Regions from separate parts of the Homo sapiens genome. Here all the other regions are linked to region 1. Evidence: promoter capture Hi-C in human tissues and cell types (Jung and others, 2019). All regions are on one chromosome and are shown on one strand. The core of a region is centred on a gene start or on the middle of the fragment in contact, and the rest is flanking DNA. Distances in the headings are between cores, read along the strand shown.

Evidence for each region. Contacts are between HindIII fragments. The study calls those that stand out against the background at their distance.
Region 2: a fragment that was not itself captured here is called in contact with the fragment with the promoter of LRRC7 in region 1 in 1 of the 25 tissues and cell types used here (dorsolateral prefrontal cortex).
Region 3: a fragment that was not itself captured here is called in contact with the fragment with the promoter of LRRC7 in region 1 in 3 of the 25 tissues and cell types used here (dorsolateral prefrontal cortex, hippocampus and mesendoderm cells).

The regions. Positions count from the first base shown.
Region 1 is chr1:69,565,060-69,569,940 of GRCh38, reverse strand. LRRC7 (leucine rich repeat containing 7) reads right to left here and starts at 2,019. Exons shown (of 27, transcript NM_001370785.2): 1 at 1,300-2,019. The coding sequence starts at 1,301. LOC105378789 (a long non-coding RNA gene) reads right to left here. Exons shown (of 12, transcript XR_947488.3): 12 at 4,091-4,881. RefSeq lists a silencer at 2,366-2,595. The HindIII fragment of the contact is 6,759 bases long and covers 1-4,881 here.
Region 2 is chr1:69,087,322-69,092,202 of GRCh38, reverse strand. It overlaps LINC01707 (long intergenic non-protein coding RNA 1707), which reads right to left. Exons shown (of 5, transcript NR_146608.1): 3 at 3,641-3,688. Among named protein-coding and RNA genes, the nearest start is that of LINC01707, 34 kb to the right of the region's middle. The HindIII fragment of the contact is 5,298 bases long and covers 1-4,790 here.
Region 3 is chr1:69,104,242-69,109,122 of GRCh38, reverse strand. All of the region lies in intron 3 of LINC01707 (long intergenic non-protein coding RNA 1707), which reads right to left. Among named protein-coding and RNA genes, the nearest start is that of LINC01707, 51 kb to the right of the region's middle. The HindIII fragment of the contact is 6,069 bases long and covers 1-4,881 here.

The DNA of each region.
Region 1 (4,881 bases), core at 770-3,269:
CACCCCCATCGCTTTTTTTTTTTTTTTTTTTTTTGTAATTCCTTTTGAAGGAGAACTTCGAAAGGAACGTGGGAGTCGCAGATGGTTCCTTTCTGAAGCCGATTCCTGGGAGTTGTGAAAGTGACCCCGTCTCTTCTCTGCCTCGAGCTGTGCCCTCTCGCCCAACCCGCTCGCTTTATGACTTGATGGGGAAGAGACAGCCAGAGAAGAGCCGGAGTAGAGGGCGGAGGCGGGTCCTTTATTCAGCCCTGATGGCCGAGAAGTAGTGTAAGGAAGCAATCTTTCAGCCATCTCCGTTATTATGAAGTCACACTATTTTAAAAGGCAATCTATACAGTCCCCCAACCCCCGCCCCCATTCTTGACTCTGCAAACAGTAAGATTAGAGACCACTGGTAGCCAATCTAATAGTCCACGAGCCAGGGTGCCATGATTACCTTAATGCTAATGTGCTTCCCTCCCTCTTTCCACGTCGAATCCGAAACACGTCCTGCATCCTTAATAACTCGGAGAGGAGGACGCAAGATCCTCAAGGGGACCCAGCGCTGGATTGGGAATAGGCAGGTTCACCAGCTTCTCGTGCCACACAAAGGAGATGTGTGGGCAGGAGTTGTCTAGCTGACAGGGAGGGAGGCAAGGTTCTCCCTGACTCCCAGGGAACACGCTCCCCCACTTCTTTCCGTCCTCCAGTCTTTCATGTTCCTTCGTCCCCTCCATCCCCCCAAACCCCACCCTTTCCCTTCAATCCCAATCACATAAAAATCTTCTAATTGTATTTTTTCAAACAGACATCGAGACATTGATACAACACCTTCCAAGATAAAGAGACAAGTGCGTCCTGCCACAAGTGTGTGTGAGTGTGTGTGTGTGTGTGTCACGATCAAACACGCGCTTCATCCCTCAGACACCTCTGGGAAAAAAGCTGACTGGAGATACCCAAGATAATAACGAGGAGCTAAACCTAATTTCAGCGGAACCAATGGTCCCAGCACCAGCGCCCAACATTTACCTTTCCTTTTCGCAGTATGTAACCCTTTAAGGTCTCTTGCCAGCTCAAGCTACTCGGTGCTCCCATGCACCCGCCCAGTTAGCACCCCATTTCCAAATGCTCTGCAACCTACCACATCTTCGCCGCCTCCCTCGGCCACCGCACAAGCAGCTCCCCGCGAGCGCCGAAGCCTCCCGCCCTGCCACCCCCGCCCCCGGCCGGCCTCTGGGGTCCCACACCTCGCGCGCCTACGGTCGCCGCGGCCGGGCCCCCGCAGCACCCTCCGCCACGGAGCGAGCGTGCCTTACTCACATCGCCGGCGGGAGAAACTGCCCATGAGGTTTCGGAGAGCGTAGTCGTGCAGCTGCCAAGGGTTATTCCTTAAGTGTTCAGGGGTCCGCAGTGGAGTGGGCGCCAGGGTCTTCGGAGGAGAAGAGGAGGGAAGGAGTAGAAGGTAGGAAGAACAGGAGATAGAGGGGAATCCAGGAAGGTGCCACGTTAGACCATGATGCCAGTGCCCTTCAGGTGGACGGCTGGAGAGGTTCCCGCGGGAAGCGGCTGAGGGGAAGCCCGAAGCGCCGGCGGGGGAGGCAGGAGCGCGTCCACTCCCCAGCCTCAGCCTGCCCAGCGCGCCGCGCTAGCGACCGCAGCAGCAGCGGCGGCGGCGGCGGCGGTGGCGGAGGCGCAGCTCCCTCCCCGCCCCCAGAAGGCTCCACAGACAATAAATCCTGGGCGGAGAAGAGACAAGCAGGAAAGGCGAATCCTGCACCCAACTCCGTAACAACCCCTGCCCGTTGCCGCGCCTGTGCAGGGCGAGGATCCCCAGGGGCCAGGGCGCAGCGGGCGTCTCGGAGGGGCTGAGCGCTCCGCAACTGCAGGAGGCGGTGGCGGTGGCCCGAGTGGGCGGCTGCAGGTCCCGCCGGCGAGAACCCGCTGCACTGGGGCTGGGTGTCCGTGGCTTCAAGCCCGGTGTTCACCCGGAGTAGGGTCCTCCTCGGTGCAGTGGCTCGGCGCACAGGTGCCAGGATTGGCAGGCGAGGAGGCGCCGCTCATGGCTCTTGGCTGTGTCTCACCGCTCTCCCCGCCCCCTCTCTTTTTTCCCACCCCCTTTTCCGACGACACCAGCTGCAGCTGCTTCAAAGTGTGAAAAATGTCAAGGAGATTTTCCAATGATAGGAGGGGGTAACCATGTTCACAACCCTCGGTCTCTTTTTGAGATCCTCGCCTGTCCCTCTGACCTCTACTCCGGCTCCCCCAAATTATGAGAAGAAAAATCCCAGTCCTGCACAGGATTGAAACGCTAGCCTTCTCCCGGCTCCGTCACGATAGGCTGCTTTTCGAGAACGGGACGAGAGGCCGAGCTCTCTGGGTTCCTCTCGCCTCCGTGGTGTTCGAGGCAGGTGGCACGAATCTCAGCGCGGGGCGGAGCGCGGCTGCCGGCTCCTCCCGCTCGCGGGCCAGCCCCGGGCGCTCGGGCAGCGCGGCGCGGCTTTCTGCAGCGCGGCCGCCTGAGCGGCAGAAGCGGCTCCCGGCCTGTGCGCCTGCCTGAGCGCCCCTGCACCCGCACTAGCTCAGTGACGCTGAGCTCGTGGCTCCTCAGGCTGCTGCTCCTGCTATCTCAGCAAAGAGGCGGCCGGGAGCGCCTCCTCGGGGTTTCCTCCCCCGCCCGCCTTGCCTGCTGCAGGTTGTTGGCTGCCAAGGAGAAAAGTCTCCGCTTGTGCGTCAGGTCGCTTCACATCAGTCATGGCAGCGAACCTTGTGCCTGCTCTTAAGTCCTCTCCTCATTCTGGGGTTGCGGCTGCTGCCCTGGGAGTGCACAAAAAGGGAAGGGTTTTCCCAACTTCCCTTCATATATTCACCGCCCCTCCTCCTGCCATGAACATTCTCTCTGACACACACACACACACACACACACACACACACACACACACACACTCTCTCTCTCTCTCTCATATGCTCCCTTACGTAAAGGCACACACACTTTCTTCTTATACGCTTCTCTAAAGTCCCAGAAGCAGCAAGACATATCAATGAAGCTAGTACTATATTTACACTTTTTTTTTTTTTTTTTGAAACGGAGTTTCGCTCTTGTTGACCAGGCTGGAGTACAATGGCGCGATCTCGGCTCACTGCAACCTCTTCCTCCCCGGTTCAAGCGATCTTCCTGCCTCAGCCTCCCGAGTAGCTGGGATTACAGGCGCGTGCCACCACGCCCGGATGATTTTTTTTGTATTTTTAGTAGAGACGGGGGTTTCACCATGTTGCCCAGGCTGGTCTCGAATTCCTGACCTCAGGTGATCCACCTGTCTCGGCCTCCCAAAATGCTGGGATTATAGACGTGAGCCACCGTTCCCAGCCTATATTTACACTTTTATTCTCTACACACATCTAATGAATTACATCTTTAAAAAAGGATATATTATGCTGGTATTCTTTTGTGGAATATAGGCTATGTGGTTTTTGTTTCTTCATTACAAGAGAGAAAGAATCTTGTCTTTAGTTCTCTAACCTCGAACACAGTCAAGACTGTGCACAGCATTCAAATGCCACTCTGGGGGTGTGTGTAAGCTCACAGTTTGCCAAAAGAAAACACACCTGATTGTATTCTTAGATTTGGAATGCTAAAGTCTTCAAGGTCAAAAATTATGTTTCCTGGCTGCTAGAAATTGTCTAGGAAGAGACTTGAGAGACTGGCACCTAATGTGCGGAGGACCTAGAGAGGAATTATTGCCCACTTTATCTGGGCCATGAAGGTGGGCTGACTTTTAAGGACAACTTGCCAGTGTTTCATATCATTTGCATATAGAAAGGAAAAGGAGTATATTTTGAAAAGCCAGATCGTTTTTTATATTGTTACAAAACACCAAAAGAAAGGGCTCTGAAAATGGCAAGGAAATGGAATAAAATTGTTAAAAGAATTTTTTTTGAATTGACTACTGTTGTGCTCTGTTTTTTTTTCACCTATAGTGTTGTCCTTTTAAACATTTTGCCACATCTCAATGTCTCTGCTGGATGAAGTGACATGAAATATTTTAGGTGCTGATTAAAAATGTATTGACAAAATAACCTGGCGCAACAATTACACAATTATAGCGGTCCTTTATGGGTTTCCAGTTCTTTTTAATACAGTCAACACAGTACTTTCACATATATTCTTTCATTTAATCCTTTCTTAAATCTAGGTGGTGGATAATCTAATCCACACTTACAGGAAGGGCACAAAGGCTCATCTCATAAGGGTGTCCAGTTGCCCTGCACTTGAGCCCAGAATTTCTTATTTTAACTTCAGGCTTCATTGTTTTGTATCAAAATATTTGACAAAAATTATTCTGTTTAAAAACACAGCCAGTTATGAGTAACTGCAGATCCTTGCATACAGGCAGCATACCTACCAATGAAGTTACCTTCTGTGTGTTAAGTGGAAGTAGTTTCCTACGTGGAAACAAACGTATTCCTTTCCAATGGAGAAAAAGATAATTTTGGAACCCCGAATTAAAAATTGATGGTGCTGATATAACACATTTCAAACTACATGTCCTCCTTTCCCATTTATCTTGTCCTAGAATCTTGATTTTGGACCATAAAAATCCAATGGATAAAATACTTTAAATATGTTCAGATGTCCACCTAATTGTTATGGGTTTTAACAAACAGGATTATAAGGTGTAAAGAGAAGGTATTCTCTTTAGAATAAGCTTTGAATACAACGGCTCCATATTTTTGTAAGATTATGAATCTTGAACAAAATCTGGCCACCTTTACTATTTAAACAATGAGACATTGAAGAGATTTCAGTGGTTTCATAGAATTATGGAACTATTGAAATGCAAATGCAGGTGCTGTCTTTAAACTTCAAGCTGCCCTGTCATCAACCCTCTGGAAATGCAGATGACT
Region 2 (4,881 bases), core at 892-3,391, 480 kb after region 1:
ATTTATCCAGTCTCAGTCATCTTTGACTGATAACACAAGGTAAAATTTTTACAAACCTTTTATAACTTTTTGTTATATCCATAAGCTTTTTTTTTTAAAAAAAAATACTTTTGTACCTTTCTTTATCAAAACATCTATTTTCTTCACATACAGAGTTGTTTCTCTATACAGCCATATCTCATTTTGTTGCTCTTCATTTTATTGTGCTTTGCAGATATTGCATTTTTAAATAAATTGACAATTTGTGGCAACTCTAAGTTGAGTGAGTCTATTTGCATCATTTTTTCAATAGCATGTGCTCACTTTGTTTTTGTCAGCATTTTTTTAGCAAAGGAAGTATTTTTAAATTAAGGCAAGTACAATTTTTTTTTCAACATAATGCATTGAACACTTAATGGACTACAATATCGTATAAACATGACTTTTATATGCACTAGTGATATGACTCCGATGACTGGAGGAATATCAGGGTCCTTAGTCTCATCCCAATTTTGATAAAATGACACGGAGACACATGGAGTGGTTTTAAGGAGCGGGAAGTTTAATAGACGAGAAAGAAGGAAGAAACTCCCCGACACAGAGACAGAGGGAGGGAGGGCTCCAAAGCCAAGAGAGGAAACTCCCCTGTGCAGCGGAAAAGTGGCTGCTTATATGAGAAGGCTGGAGGAGGTGGTGTCTGATTTGCATAGGGCTCAGGGGCTGCTTTGACCAGGCAGGTCATTTATGGAGCTGTGAAAAACCTAGCCCTTCCACCCTAGCCTTTCAATATGCAAATGCACAGCACCATGATGTTCTACACACGTGGGGATATGTGGGGGCAACCATGTTGCCAGGCACATGTGGGGGCAAGGAAGAAGTTGCCAGGAATTGACATGTTTTGGTGGACCCAGTTTCTAAGGGGCCCATTTGCATATCAAAGTTTGCTGACCGAGCTTTAAGAACCAGGGCTTTCCTGCTAGGCAAAAAATGTTTCTGGAGCTGCTTAAAAGAAACAAAAACTTCCCAAGGACCCCTTTTCCTCTTTATTTGCCTAAAATAATTTCTTAATAACTCCTATTACACTGGGAAATCAAAAGTATGTATGACTCACTTTATTGCAGTATTCACTTTATTGCAATGATCTGGAACCAAACCTGCAACGTCTCCAAGGTATGCTTGTAATTTCTAGTAGCTTAATAACATATGCTAATTATAATCTTTAACTCTAGTAACCTTAATTTCTAATGAAAACTAGCAAGCATTGTAAATTGGCTTACATCAGCATTTACCATTTTATAATTTCCAGAAAGATGTTTCCTCAGTTTTTCATGCTTATTACCAGACTCAGATATATGTAGCTCTCTATGACATATAAAAACAGGATGCTAAAATATTTAAACTTAAACTTATGCTTAGTACTTAATGTTTTAGTATTTTACCTTACTGAGGCATATAGCAAGTACATATTACTTAATCTCACATTAAGGTTTTAAGTTACCAAAAAAGATTTTTGAAGATATTCTTAAGTAGACATATGTTATAAAGCATAATTATATTGAAAATTTTACTCATAGACTTTTATCTCACATTCATCTAATTCATTCATCTTTAAGAATTATGCTTGAACTGTGTATGAAAATTTTATAACACAGTAAATAAAGCTAACCACTATCTTATCTTTTTTGTTGACAAATCAGAGAAGTATCAAAAAATCACAGACACAAACTAAAAAGCTAAACATGTTATCTCCTCTATTTTTTTTTTTTTTTTAGAAACTGACATGCATCAAGCAATTAATTCATGTTTTACTGTGCATTCTGCTTTTAGGCTAGATTTCTAGTTTTATAATCTTAAACATCTAACAGAGACAATACAAACCTGTCTGTACCAAAAACCCAGGCAAAAATGTATGTCTGTATTAGATTTAATGATATAAACATACAGACAGAGCAGATTTTACAGTTTCTATTCTATAACTTTTAGCCACATGCCAGGTTCAATAATTTAAAGCTCACTAGCTGGATCTGTCAAATGGGTAAGGTAAGGCTATCTTCTCAAATGACTACAGCTTTTTACCAATTTTTCTGGAGAAGGCTTTTAAGAGTTTTCATTTGACCAGTTTCCAAATAGTTTATTTTTTTCTCTTTTCTATGAAAGTCATCTCCCTGAAGTTTTTATTGCAAAGGGTAACTATCAAGTTCTAGAGAAGAGTGTAGAAAATTTACGAATCAAAGGCACAGAGAAAGCCTACTATCAGAGACCGATCTTATGGAGACTATGAACTAGATTGTAAGCTAGTGCCTGAGGAGACATCTTACAGCTGTTTAAATGTCTTCAAAGACCCACCTGAGTGGACGAGTTATCCATTTCTGTTACAACTGAATTTGTTGCATTTTTCTCGATTTTTGTCTGAAGTTCTCACTAGAGAGTGTTTATAGACACTCTCTAGTGAGAGAGATGGGCTTATCAAGATAGCCACTCTATGGTAGAGCCCCAACTGGGAGGCTCATTAGGCTCAGGTATGTCAATTAAGTGAGACACAGAGGAAGATTCAAAATGAATGCTGAGGTAACATAAAATTATGGGAATTTACTACAGGATTTTACAAGGACATATACAGATGGACCTAGGAGAAGGTTTAGAAGCCTAACTAAAGTCTGGCCACAGAAACCAGAGTCCTTCTAAGAAGGGGTCTTAGAGAAGCCAGTTTAAGAAGATTTTGAGTCCCCTTCCCCATCCCCCTAAAAAACCAATGATATTCTACATTCTCCTCAGCAAAAAAATCTTGCCAGCAAGAAAGAAAACAGAAGGGCTGAGCATATAGTTAGCAGGGATTCAACAAGAGGAGTTTCAGTCAACTAAGTTCCCATGGAAGAAGCAATATCCAATAGTGAGAACACAGAGGCCTTAAAAAAAGTAAAGCCTGAATATCAGCTTTCAATTAATCAGACTTCTGACCACAGAATTCATTGAAGAAAAAAACAAAACAAAAAAACTTTTCAAATATTTTATTTTCAGATTTCAGCCAGAACAAACAGCAACTGCTTGAACTACTTGTGGCTTTTTTTTTTCTGCTTTTAAACTGAGGCCCCAACCAAGTGACTCAGAACCAAAATCAGTCAGTCTTTTATGACTTAACCAAGGATGAAAGAGATGTCCTGAAAAGAGGGTGCAAAAAGATGTAGTCCTCCCAAGATCCAGAATCATCCGCAAAAGACAGTCAAAAGAAAAAAAGACCTTTGTTGCCACAGAACTAAGCAATGAAGGCTGAGACCAAAAAAAAAAAAACAAAAAAAAAAAAAGAAAAACAAAAAAAAAACAGGCCTCTCATGAATTGGAACCTCTAATAAGACAAATTCCCCTGAGAGCTGACACTACATGACAAAAAAAAAAAAACATTTGGACTGGCTGCCTGATGTAAGCTGACACTTGCATCCCCCAGCTGGTAGAGACCAGAGAGAATATTCTCACTGATCATAAAACCAAACCTTCAGGACACAGAACAAGACAAATAGGAAAGAAATGGATGTCCCCGGAAAGGAAAAGATCAATAACAAATATGTACTTCCAAACCAAATTTACACAAAAGACACAATCCAAACAAATGATTTCTTCCTGCTAATCTGAATTTGGGAAGGAAGGGATAAAAACAAATGCTTACCTTCCATTCTTAATTGGGCACTACAGGCAGAGATCCAGGAGAGGTGACCTTGGTTTAAAAAAAAAAATGTGTGTTGTTGTTGTTGTTGTTGTTGATTTTTTGTTAGTTGTCCCAAGATCTGGTGTGAGGTGTTTCAATGACCCCACATTGGGCACCAGAAACTGTAGGGGCAGGAAAGGGGTGTGATAACTTGATATTATAGGAGGAGCAAACGTAGCACTTACTCACCCATTGTAAGTGTTACGTTTGATCCTCCTATAATAAAAGATAGGTTAACAAGAGAAAAGCATGACAAATTTGTTTAATCAAAGTTTTATGTGACACAGGAGCCTTCAGAAATGAAGACCAAAAGACCCAGGGAAAACTACTTTTATGCTTAGGTTTGATGAAGAGTGGACATCCATGTTGAAATGTGATTAGACAAAAAGGGTGATTGAGTGGTAAAAGACAGAGGAAAACCCAGTAAGTCCTGTCTGTTCAGATTCTTCTGGGTTTCTGTAGAATTCCTTCCTCCTAGATATGGGCCAGGACCCCTCTGATATGAGGTTCTTTAAGGGAGAAGAGAAAAGAGTGACCTTTCTAAGTTTAATGGCTTGCTTTGGGGAAAGGGTTCTAGTTTCTATGACCCACTCTAGGCAAGAGGAATTCTACGACTCACTTCAGGAGAGAAAGAGAGCAGGAGAAGGTCAGAGAGAGATTTTGCTTTTGAGGCTTTCCCATCTCCTTTAGTTCAAAGTACTCAGCATGCCAAAGTGCCATACTTTGTGTTATCATTTTCTGAGCCCCAATGCTTGGGTCACATATGGTAGCTTCAGCTCCTGACATTAGATCCACATTCAAGGAAAGAAAAATGAGAAAGGGATGATGCCAGGCAGATATATCCCCTTTTAATAGGAAAGCAAACCCTCCCCCAAAACATTCAGGAGACTTCCATCTACCATGTGTTAAGCACAGCTGCACACAGAACCAAGCAATGAAGGACACAGAACCAAGCCATGAAGTTGTGTGGCTACTGTTGGCTCAAGGGAAACTGAAATATGAGCGTCTATCTGGGCACATTGCTCCCCAATCTGGAGTTTTGTCAGCAAAGAAGGAGTGAATGAATATTAAGTAAGCAATCAACAATATCTGCCACAGTATTATTTACTGAATCTTCCATGTGCCAAGCTCTACACTGAGATCTTTATATAAATTATTTCATTTACTCCTCACATTTAATACAATAAGGCTTTTTAAAATTA
Region 3 (4,881 bases), core at 675-3,174, 460 kb after region 1:
TGGTGCGCTGCACCCACTAACTCGTCATCTAGCATTAGGTATATCTCCCAATGCTATCCCTCCCCCATCCCCCCACCCCACCACAGTCCCCAGAGTGTGATATTCCCCTTCCTGTGTCCATGTGATCTCATTGTTCAATTCCCACCTATGAGTGAGAATATGAGGTGTTTGGTTTTTTGTTCTTGCGATAGTTTACTGAGAATGATGATTTCCAATTTCATCCATATCCCTACAAAGGACACGAACTCATCATTTTTTATGACTGCATAGTATTCCATGGTGTATATGTGCCACATTTTCTTAATCCAGTCTATCATTGTTGGACATTTGGGTTGGTTCCAAGTCTTTGCTATTGTGAATAGTGCCGCAATAAACATACATGTGCATGTGTCTTTATAGCAGCATGATTTATAGTCATTTGGGTATATACCCAGTAATGGGATGGCTGGGTCAAATGGTATTTCTAGTTCTAGATCCCTGAGGAATCGCCACACTGACTTCCACAATGGTTGAACTAGTTTACAGTCCCACCAACAGTGTAAAAGTGTTCCTATTTCTCCACATCCTCTCCAGCACCTGTTGTTTCCTGACTTTTTAGTGATTGCCATTCTAACTGGTGTGAGATGGTATCTCCTCGTGGTTTTGATTTGCATTTGCTTTTCTTTCCTTCCTTTCCTATTTTTAAATATTTAAAGTTGCTCATCTGTACCTTCTCCTGGGCATTTTCCTTCTCATTTCCCTTCTATTTTAAGTAAATGTATTCTTCTAGAGCTTGGTATTACTCATGGAACAGTATTTGCAAAGGTGAATTTCATTTGAGTTAACTATACCCCACTTAGCCCAGGGCCAGTTTGAACATGGGTCAAGGAGTCTGTGGGTGCCTCTCGACAGGAAACAAGGACATATCAAATGACTTACGAAGAGATTTCCTTGAGACAACTTACTCCCCATCACTAATGTCTGTATCAGCTGCTGATTTTAAATTAGATTTCGCTCAAAATGTTCAGCCTAATGGGAGTGGAGAAAGGGATTGGGCAGCCAAGAGTATTTGAATGATTCTGCTACAGCCACCAAACTATGCTAGGTGTTTACCAAGAAACTATCTCAAAAGCTTCCTGGGAGTTCTCCTTAGGCTCTCGCTCTCCTTTCCATTCAACAATTCTTTGCTTAGTCTGTGCTTCCTCCCTGCAATAACTTTTCCTTTCTGTTCTTTCTGAATTCCTATTCATTATTTATGCCCTTCTTTTTTTTTTTTTGAGACAGAGTCTCGCTCTGTCACCCAGGCTGGAGTGCTGTGGTGCGATCTCGGCTCACTGCAAGCCCTGCTTCCCGGGTTCACACAATTCTCCTGCCTCAACCTCCCAAGTACCTGGGACTACAGACGCCCGCCACCACACCCGGATAATATTTTGTATTTTTTTTAGCAGAGACAAGGTTTCACCGTGTTAGCCAGGATGGTCTTGATCTTTATGCCCTTCTTAGTACCATCTCCTCTCTGAAACCTTTCCCTACCTTGCCACACTCCATGGCAGAATGAATTGCTTCTTCCTATGAATTCTCAGAGTTTTGTGCACATAGGTCCATCACAAAAACTTATCACACCATACCATAATGAATGGTTTATATGCCTGTCAATCTCCCTGTAATCATTATTGGGATTTTCAAGGGTATTTATTTACTTATTCTTTTGATACATCACTTAAAACTTGTATAATCTCTGGCACACAAGTGCTAAATACATATTACGTTTGAACTGCCTTTGGAGGCTTTGCTTTATTACTTAGGATGTGGCCACATTGTATCTGAAATAAAAGAGCCTGCAACAAGAAATTCAGTGCTCTGCAACCTGCCTTCTCATACCATCAGTTGAATCTCTGCTGTCGCCATCCATCCCACCACCATTAAAACATTTCCTGGAATTTCCTATCTGATCATCCTTCCAATCCATCACTCCTTTGAGCAAAACACCAACAAATACATTATGTCTAACCATTTTATTTTCTAAATTATAAAATGCACACCATATCACTAAAGAATGCATCAACTTGTATTGGGAAGAAAGGATTTTTTTTTTTTTCCTAATGAGCAACAATCATAGAATAACTATAGTAGGGTCCATATATGGCTTTCTTCAGGAACTCTTGCTGGCAATCAGTTAGGCCTCCGTATGTAGTTATATTTACTAAGGCTTTTGATTTATGCTTTGAAGCAAATATTTAGAACAAATCTTGAAAGTGAATGTTTCTCTTTTTTTTCTTCCTATCCCTGCATGTGAAGTAGCAAGGGTGTGAAATAGTTCAAATGTCTGTCCCACTGACAATGCCTCTGTGACATCACTATTTCAGCCAGAGTTCTTTAGTTTGCAAAGAACAAAGACCCACAAAGCTAGATCAATTAACCTGGAACCTGTGGTATTATAAGGCTGCTCAGTAGGTTCTCATACAGATCCAGGAATAGGAATCGAGTACAGCTGACCCAATGGGGACTGAACTGGGAATTGCACTCCTCCTCTCTGCCCATCTAAATCATTCCATTTCTCTTTACTGATTATCTTCCTATTTACCGATAGTTCATAGAGCTCATATTGCCATCTTCTGTGCCCTAACTCTACTTAAACTTTGTGTGCCATTGTCAACTGACAACTTTTACTGAGTCCCTAAGTAAAAACTCCCAAGACAGAGAGAGACTGAGAGAGAAAGAGAGAATGGTAGGAATGGTTCTGATTGTCCCAGATCACCGTTTTGAGCCACACAAGCACACAAGTCATGTATCTATAGCCTCTCTTTCACTTTGGTTTACGTGTCTACCATTTTCTTAACTCAGCTGGGGCCAAGATGATGGGATCAATGTTAAATAAAACATAGGTATTTAGGGCAATTGATTATGTTTTATAAAGGATGAAACATGCCTAGTAGAAAAAGCAATACAGAATATCTTCCCTCTAACAGTTCTTAAGCCTGTGCTCTATTCCCAGAGCCAAGCTGTCTCTTGGTAGGCCATTAAAAAAAATAAAAGTTTCAATTCAAGGTATTTTACAGAGAAACATATGACTAAAAATTAATTAATTAATTAACAAATGAAATGAGTGAAAAGTTAGAATCTGTCTATGTATAATCACTTCCAATGAAAAATGTTTCTGCCAGGCATGGTGGCTCATAATCCCAGCACTTTGAGAGGCCAAAGCAGGTGGATCACTTGAGGCCAGGAGTTCAAGACCAACCTGACCAACATAGCAAAATCCCATCTCTGCTAAAAATACAATAATTAGTCAGGTGTGTTGGTGGGCACCTGTCATCCCAGCTACTTGGGAGGCTGAGACACGAGAATTGCTTGAACCGGGAGGCAGAGGTTGCAGTGAGCCCAGATTGCACCACTGCACTCCAGCCGGGGCAACAGAGTGAGACTCTTATCTCAAAAAAAAAAAAAAATCTATTTGAGTTTCACTGTGTACCTGTTCAGGGAGTTTTAACACACATTTGTTAGTTTTAGTGGGCACAGAATGACTTCTGGAATCCAAAGGACTAGGTTTCACTTCACTTTTACTATTATTCACTGTAAAGTTTTAGCAGAACTTATTGATCATTTAAAACTTTCCTTATTTATAAAATGGGAATATGAATAATAATTGTTCATTAAAAATTATGTATTAACTATTGTGCTGTGAGATTTACATATGCTACCTTATTTAATATTCATAAATATCATAGGAGCTTAACCCCAGTTTATACAGAGAAGATAATAATAATAATTGCATTTATCTCAAGCATCTATTGAAGGGCTCTTTATGCTTGAGGCAGATACTACTACCTTCATCTAACAGATTAGGTGGCTGAGGAACTAAGAGGGTAATTGTCTGCCCAAGCACACACAGCTCATAAGTAACAGAACTAAATTCCTATTCCAGTCTCTTTCCAAAGCTTCTGTTCTTAAGCAGAATACATCACTATCCTAAAATAACCTGCTGCTGCACTTCCTCACATTTGTTGAGCAGAACCAGTGAGACTGTAAAAGTGAAAATGTTTGGATGCAGTAAGTGTCTATATTAGGGATGAGACATGTATGGCATCTGTGTCACCAATCCCTCTCTGTCCACTGACAGCACTGCTAATTGCAGGGGTCAACAAACTCTGGCCCAGCAGAGGGCCAAAGCCTGCAAACTGTTTTGGTAAAGGAAGGTTTTTTGGGACACAGCCACACCATTTCATTTATGTATTGTCTTGGCTGCTTTTGGACCAAAAACAGCAAAATCGAGCAGTTGCAACAGAGATCATATGGCTTGCAAAGCCTAAAATATTTACTATCTGGCCCTATACAGAAAAAGTTTGCCAACCTCTGGATTAGAGCATAATGATCTGGTAACTAAGACACAGCTTCAGATTTGTTATCAACAAATCTGGAGCCATTTTCCTCCTGGTACCTACTACCGGTTGACTGAAATTTGACAAGGAAATAAACCTATTGAATATTCCTATAATCTAAAACTGTTTATTATTATTACTACTAAATCAAATAGAGAAATGAATGGAATCATTGATAAATCAATGGACTCAAGTAAGGTAACAGGAATACCTAGCCGCATTTGGAAATTCAGACTTCCTTTTGCCTGGATTTCTCCTTTTAAACCTTGGGGTGAAAAGATAGTGGGAATCACTCAATTAAAGTGTTTCTGACTTAGGGGCAGAAAGGGGGAAGAATGGGGAGAATACTGGGCAAACCACATTGTTATCCCGTTGTTTCTGGAGATCCTATCCTATGGGGCCTTAGCAGGCTTCCATATCACAATATGACTAACTGCCACCTAAATGAACGAAATCTGATTCACCACATACTTGAATACAGAAGGAAAAATGTGGATGAAAAAGAGCTATCTGAAAACCTTCA